Linked DNA regions of Homo sapiens: region 1 is linked to region 2. The links are contacts of gene promoters, found by promoter capture Hi-C in blood cells and fetal thymus (Javierre and others, 2016). All regions are on one chromosome and are shown on one strand. The core of a region is centred on a gene start or on the middle of the fragment in contact, and the rest is flanking DNA. Distances in the headings are between cores, read along the strand shown. Region 1 overlaps MKNK1 (MAPK interacting serine/threonine kinase 1). Region 2 holds the start of CMPK1 (cytidine/uridine monophosphate kinase 1).

Region 1 (3,468 bases), core at 648-3,147, 740 kb after region 2:
CTACCTGTGTGACTTGGGCAAGTTATTTAATCTTCCTGAGTTTCTGTTCCTTCATCTGTAAAATGAGAATACAAATATTACTTACCTCATGGGGTTGTTATGAGAATTGAGATACAACAGCACAGTGCCTGGCACACAGTAGGTGCTCAATGAATGTGAGCTTTAATAGTAATAATATTAATAAATATATGAATGCCCAGTTTGGTACTGTTTTTATAGAAAGTATATTTATTAGGGCCATTTTCCCTTCCCCCGCATTGTTACCTTCTCTTTCTTTCCATTGCCCTGTCAGGAACCTTTGAGATACTAGATTGTTCCAGCACATGGTTGCAATGCATAACATGGCAGAAAGTGCCTGTAGGAAATGGGTCAATAAAAATCAGTGGCTCGTTAGAAAATCTTACCTGACTTGTGTTTTCACCTCTCTCCACAGTAAACAGGAACAGAGCAGCACATATATTACTTTTTTCACAGCCTTCAACAAGAGTGCCAAGCAAGACTCCTCCAATTCACTTGCCAAAAGTACAATAACAGTATCTCTGGAAAAGTGGTGCCTAATTTGGTTCTTCTTTCTGTCCAGCTTAAACCCTTCAGGCCTTAACTTAAGCCATTTCTTCTTGTTCCATTTTCCATGAATATGGAAAAGTTTCTTCTGATTTTAAAGGGAGGATGAGATCAAGATTTTCTCATGAGAACCTTTTCTGTACTTAAAGCCAGAATCCAGTTAAACCTCATCTTCTCTTCTCCCGGCTAAACAGCCTTGGTCTCTTTAACCTCACTCTTAAAACCTGTTTTCCATTGCTTGGATCACATTGGTCATGCCTCTTTTCTTTCTCTTCGGTTTTTCTGCTTTGTGGCAGTGACCCAGACTGTACTCGGTCTTCTAATAAGAGTCCAGCTAAAACAGCTTAAGGGAAGAATAACTTCAGCTGTTTCCATCCATTCATTAACAATTATGAAGTGGTTGCCCCATACCAGAGCCTCTGCTAGGTGTAGGGGTCCCAGAGATGAAGGAGACATAGTCTCTACCCTGTCCCTGGCTAACAGTCTAGGGGAAGATGCGTAATAAAATGTTACAGGTAATTTAATTATGCACAAGTGTAGGAAGCTGGGAATTGGTTAGAGCAATCAGGTGGAAATACAGTCCCTTTTGACGAGACTGCAGGTTAAGACTCCCATAGAGGGTTGGTCTGGGACAAGTTGATGGAGGCCGTGAGTGACAGCACAGAAGCTTGGTTACTCCAGAGGCAGTGGACACCCATTAGAAGTTTTAGAGCAAGGAAGTAACAGGTCGAGATCTGGCTTTTTGGACCAAGGGTAGAGATGCCATAAACCTTAGCCTTACCTGTGCCTCACTGATGTTTTCTGTCTTGAAAGTAATGTGATGGATCTTTTGTTTGTATACATGGTGATTTTTTTTTTTTTTTTTGCTCTAAAACGTCTGTAGAAGGTCTAGTTCTTAAGCACTGAAGAAATTTAATTCCCAGTACAGCAAGAAATTCATGAACAATTGAGAGAGAATTGGGTGCCTCGCCAGGCCCAGCCTACTTAAGACCCAGCTGCAGGCCGATGGATCTGTGTAGGTTTGGTCTGGCCATGGTCACCCTTCCCCACCCCAGCCCTATACCAGCAGGAGGTACAGGAATGAGGAGAGGGCTCCAGGGTCCATCTGGGTAGTTGGTAAAGAATGCTAAGAATCTTTAAGAACTGTGAGAGTCAGAAGTAATTTTTGAGGAGGAAAAAGGGACCAGAGGAATTTTAAATGGTGCCAGAAGGAATTAGGGCTAACCAGGCACTTAGAATCCTGTGACATGTATCTGAAAACCTCCACATTCTCTCTCTGCCTTTGTATTTGCTGTCAGTTTATTCCCTCCTGCGGCCAACTGTGGTTCACAGATTGGCTGGGTTGCTTTCCAGAGCTGCAGTTGATCTGGAGAAGCCATGTCAGAAGCTGGAATAAGAGTTACTATTGAGTGCCTACTGTATGCCAGATACTGGTGCCACGAGCTCTATATACATTAGCTCACTTAATTGCCATGACAACTCTGTGATCTAGGTGTTATTGCCCCATTTTATAGATGATGGTAGTAAAGCTCAGAGAGTTTGAATTTTATGTCCAAGGCTACCCGGCTGGTAGATGGTAGGGCCAGAACTGGAACCTAGGACCTAATGCCCAAAAGCCCTGTGCTTTCTACTTCCCCAGCCTAAGGTGGCTCCACGTGGCAAAATAACACAAAGCCCATAAGGAATTCTGAGGGGTTTTTTTTCTACTGTAGGCCAAGGGTTGGCAAAGTATGGCCCACAGGCCATATTTGACTCACTGCCTGTTTTAGTGTGGATGCAAACTAATGTACTTTTTACATTTTTATGTGGTTGGGGAGAAATCAAGAAAAGATCAATATTTTATGACACATGAAAATCTATGAAATTTAAATTTCAGTGTCCAAAAATAAAGTTTTATTGACATATAGCTACAATCATTGATTTACATATTGTCTACTGCTTTCTCTCTACAAATGCAAAATTGAGTCATAACAAAGATCATGTGACACACAAAGCTTAAAATATTTACCATCTGGCACTTTACAGAAAAAAAATTGCCAACTCCTACCATAGGTAACAAGAAGGGACCAGGTGGGGGTCTAAACCTATGACAAGACTAAAGACAGAATGGAAGCTCAAGGCCAGGCGTGGTGGCTCACGCCCATAATCCCAGCACTTTGGGAGGCTGAGACAGGCAAATCACGTGAGCTCAGGAGCTCAATACCAGCCTGGGCAACATGGTGAGACCCTGTGTCTACAAAAAATACAAAAATTAGGCGTGGTGGCTCGTGCCTGTAGTTTCAGCTACTTGGGAGGCTGAGGTGGGAGGATCACTTGAGCCTGGCAGGTGGAGGCTGCAGTGAGCCAAGATCATGCCACTGCACTCCAGCCTGGCTAATGGAGCCAGATCCTGTCGTTGGATGGTGTTCAAGGCTGTCCCTGGAAGTGTGGTAGTAGAAGTGAAGAAAGAGAGCATACCCTGAGTTTCCTTAGGCCCTGGAAACAGTTTTACTGGGTTTCAGATTTGTTTGGGAATAAAGAGCATAGTAGGAAGGACTGTCCAATGTGCTAACATCTTTATTGGATGTTAAAGAGATATTTCGTGTATTAAGTAATTCATTCAGATTCACTAGAGCCCATTTTTGCCAGATACTATGTTAGATGCTGGTAATGCAAAGATGAAAAAGGTAAGTGCTTGCCTTTGAGGAATAACTGGCAGGATGACGTGATCTGATAGGGAAGAAGAGAAGTCAGAGGAAGGAGGCAGTGGGTGGGGGTTGGGCACAAGTCCCACTTGGGGCATGTGGTTTGAGGTCATGGTGAAACACACCCAACTTCCAGTTAGAAAGCCTTTTTAGAAATTTTGGCTCAGAATTCAGAGTTAAACTGCATTTTCAGGGCTTTTCCACCGAGAAAAGGGGAAAT
Region 2 (3,490 bases), core at 310-2,809:
AATATTTATAAATACATCTGTCCAACACATAATGACTTGTTGAACTCATCTAACTTTCTCTGGATGCTATTTAGGGAATAAAATACAGGACAGGAGTTGATTGTTATGAACATATAAGGAGAGAAGCAAAAGCCCCATGCTAATATTGGCCATATCCTAGAAGAGGAGGAAATTATAAGTTCTAGGTCAAAAAAACTTTTGTTGGTTACAGGGTTTCAGAGTGATTTCACTAGAGGCCACCAATGGTCGCCTCTTCTGTTTCTAGATATCCTGTTTTCCTTCTTTCCCAAGCATTCCCCAGATTGTCCATGAAGCCTTTTTTTCCCACAGTGTCAATGCAGCTAACCAACCATACATCTAGCTCAAAAATTGTTAAAAGAATTGAACTGGTAACCTGTCTCAAAGCAAAAGAAAAAAAAGTAACAGCATTTTACATTTGGGAGGTGTTTTATATCCTGAGAAAATCTGGGTTCAGAGACTCTTTTTACTGTATTACAAGGGCTAACTGAGGCTGGGAGACAGGAAGTGACCGAGGGCCGAGCGTGAGTTGGCAGCAGGGCCAAAGGTTGAAGCTTGATCTCAGAACAGCACTCCCGGCTTTCCCCATCCCCGACCCGGGCCGAGCCTCAGGGCTGGCTCCGCCCTAAAGCTTGCGGGGACGGGGCTCGAGAGTGCCAGCGGCAGCCCACAGCACGCCTAAAATAACACCCCGCCCCACGGGCCTCCTTTCTAGAGTAAAGACACGTTCGGTGACAGTGCGGAGTTTAGGGAACCAGAGGGAAGGCGCGGAGAAGAAAAATAGGTCTCTCCTTCAGACAACTGTGGGCGCACACGGCCTCTAACCCAAATCCGCGCTCCTGCTGCCTTCACCTGCCACACGATCAGCGACACGCTAACCTCTGCGCGCTGGGGGACCCCCAAAGGTTGGCCTCCGGGATCCCTCTCCCAGCCCACTCTAGAGACGAATCTGGTCCCCAAAATGTAAGAAAAGAAGGGGCGCAGGAACAAAGCGACCTCAAGCGGTGGCCCCCAAGGCGGGCGGGCGCGGACTACAAGTCCCGGCACGCCGCGCGCCGGCGGCCCTCGGCCACTGCCACGCGGGCGGCGCGGTGGCCGCCGGGACTCGTAGTCTGCGGCTCGGCGACTCCGCGGGGCGCGGACTAGGGGCGGCGGGACAGGCCGGCCCGCATCCCGTCAAGCCCCAAGGAGCCCGCCTGCTGCCCGGGCCTCACCTCGACGATGCGGGCGCACTGGGTCCCCTTGCCGGCGCCGGGGCCGCCGAGGACGAACACGACCAGCGGCTTCATGAGACGTGGAGAGCAGAGGAGAATCGGCCGGCGGGTCTGCAGCAGGAAGCTAAGGCCCAGGACGTGGAGCAGCCCGCTGCGGCAGCGGCTCAGCATACACCGCGCCTCGGCCGGACGCTGAGGGAGCTGACAGCGGCCGGCGCGGCGCGGGGCGGGGCGGGGAGGCGGCGGGAGAAAGGGGCGGGCTGAGCCGGCGCCCGCCGCGGCCCCGCCGCCGTGGCTGCCCGGGCGTCCGCGGCCCTGTCGGAAGGGGAGGAGCTTCGCACGGCGGCGGCGTCTCGGCGACACTCGTGCGGTCCGCGCCAGCTTTCCTCCAACCCTTGGGTGGTTATTAGTGCTTTCTGACTGCAGATATTTTATCCTGCGCCCTCAAGTGTCTGGTGCTGAGCTGGAGGCTGGGACGTGATCCGCGGGAGAGCAAAACCTATTGTCTCTGCTCGCAATGAGTTTCCATTCCAGCCAGTGAGGTATGGGGAGGTAGCCAGTGTGAATGAGTAAACACCAGTACATACAAAAGGCAGTACGATTTTGAAGAAATAACAAGTAGGACATAAGATGGCCAGGGTCGCCAGAGAAGGCTTCAGAAGAGGTGACATTCAAGCCAAGACAAAAGGATAGAAAAGAGCGAAACCAGGCAAACACCAGGATAGAGTGTCCCACAGAGAAAAGCATGTGCAAAAAATCTAAGTTGGTTTGGCATGTTAAAGCAATTGAAGGAAGGCCTGGCTGGGCGCGGTGGCTCACGCCTGTAATCCCAGCATTTTGGGAGGCTGAGGCAGGAGGATGGCTTGAGCCCAGGAGTTCGAGACCAGCCTGGACAACATGACGAGACCCCGTCTCGACCAAAAATTTAAAAGCCGGGCACCGTGACCCGTGCCTGTGATCCCAGCTACTGGGATGTTCACTTGAGCCTAGGAGCCGTAATAGCACCACTGCACTCCTGCCTAGGTGACAATGAGACTGCTTCAAAAAAAAAAAAGGAAAAAAGGCCAGTGACAGTGAGACCAGGGCTGAGTCAAATGAGGGGAGAATGGAAGGTGAAAAGTTGAGAAAGTGAGGTCGGTGGCAGATCAGGACTTTTGATTATGGAAAGGAATTTGGGCTGTATTCTAACAGCAATGGAAGCCCTTTAACTCCGTTCGCCTGCCCCCTTCATTAGGGAAGAATCTTAAGGGAGAAGAAAAGGAGACGTTCAAGAACTGAGCCTTGGTGCATACAGGCCTTTAAAAGGCCTTCTGGCCAACGTTAAGAGCTCATTTGATATTTGAGGTAACGGATTCAAAATAATTGAAGATGTTTGGCCATTCAGGCACAGGCAGAGAAGGCAGCTTGTTGCATTTACTGAGGGTTGGGATTTTGCCTGGCAAGTACAACAGAGAGAGGGGGCCAAGTGATGAGAGTGTTTGGAAGAGAATGTTCATGATGCTGTGTGTAGAATCAAAACCATACAGGAAAGCAAATAATGGCACATGAAGCCTGGTAGTGGAGGGGTTGGAGGGTGGTGGGGAAAGGGACCAATGTCTTAGAGCATTGGCCCAAGAAAGATTGCAGTGGGGTATATGAGCAAGTGCTCTGGCAGTATGGATGCTGCTGGTCTGAGTGGGATATTTGGAATTGAAATGTCCCAGCTTCTGAGTTTCTGATGATGCCAAGGTCCAGGGTGAGACCATGGGAATGGAAGACTGAGGCAGAATGCATGTCCTGTTTTTAGAACTAAGAGTCCAGGGTGTTAGATTTGTCGTACAGGTACAAGTTCAAGTCAGATAGTGCTGGAGTGAACAAAGACTATGGGAAAGGAACTAAGCTGTTTAGGGCAGAGTGACCAGGACGTTAGTAAACGAAAGCAAACAGGAGAGGAAGATAGTGGTATAGCCCTCTGTCTGACCACCCCCATTCTCCTTTTTCTTTTGGTGGTCCTTTCTTAGCTCACTCAGCATTTTCTGGCTCTTCCCCATCTCTACTCTCTCTCCTTGCTTTCTTTTTGTTGTTGTTGTTTTTACTTATTCCCATCCTTCCTACCCTTCTTTTCCCATTTATAAGTCCCTCCCTTCTCCCTGTCTCTTTTCCTGTCCTTCTCCTCACCTACTTGCCTTTGTTTGCCCTTCTTTTCCATTCTCCCTTTAATTTCTACCTCTTTCCTCTCCACAACTTCTACCTTTTCCTTCCCACCATAGAAAGGAGAA

What was found. The method cuts DNA at HindIII sites, captures the fragments that hold promoters and counts their contacts. A CHiCAGO score of 5 or more calls a contact.
Region 1: a contact is called between a fragment that was not itself captured here and the fragment with the promoter of CMPK1 in region 2, in 1 of 17 cell types (fetal thymus). The highest score is 5.1, in fetal thymus.

Annotation. Positions count from the first base shown.
Region 1 is chr1:46,595,262-46,598,729 of GRCh38, reverse strand. The region is part of intron 1 of MKNK1 (MAPK interacting serine/threonine kinase 1); the gene reads left to right. Among named protein-coding and RNA genes, the nearest start is that of MKNK1, 7.3 kb to the left of the region's middle. The HindIII fragment of the contact is 1,327 bases long and covers 1,234-2,560 here.
Region 2 is chr1:47,331,859-47,335,348 of GRCh38, reverse strand. It overlaps CMPK1 (cytidine/uridine monophosphate kinase 1), which reads right to left and starts at 1,559. Exons shown (of 6, transcript NM_016308.3): 1 at 1,233-1,559. The coding sequence starts at 1,403. RefSeq lists enhancers at 437-496, 13-816, 817-1,620 and a silencer at 1,007-1,646. The HindIII fragment of the contact is 8,075 bases long and covers 652-3,490 here.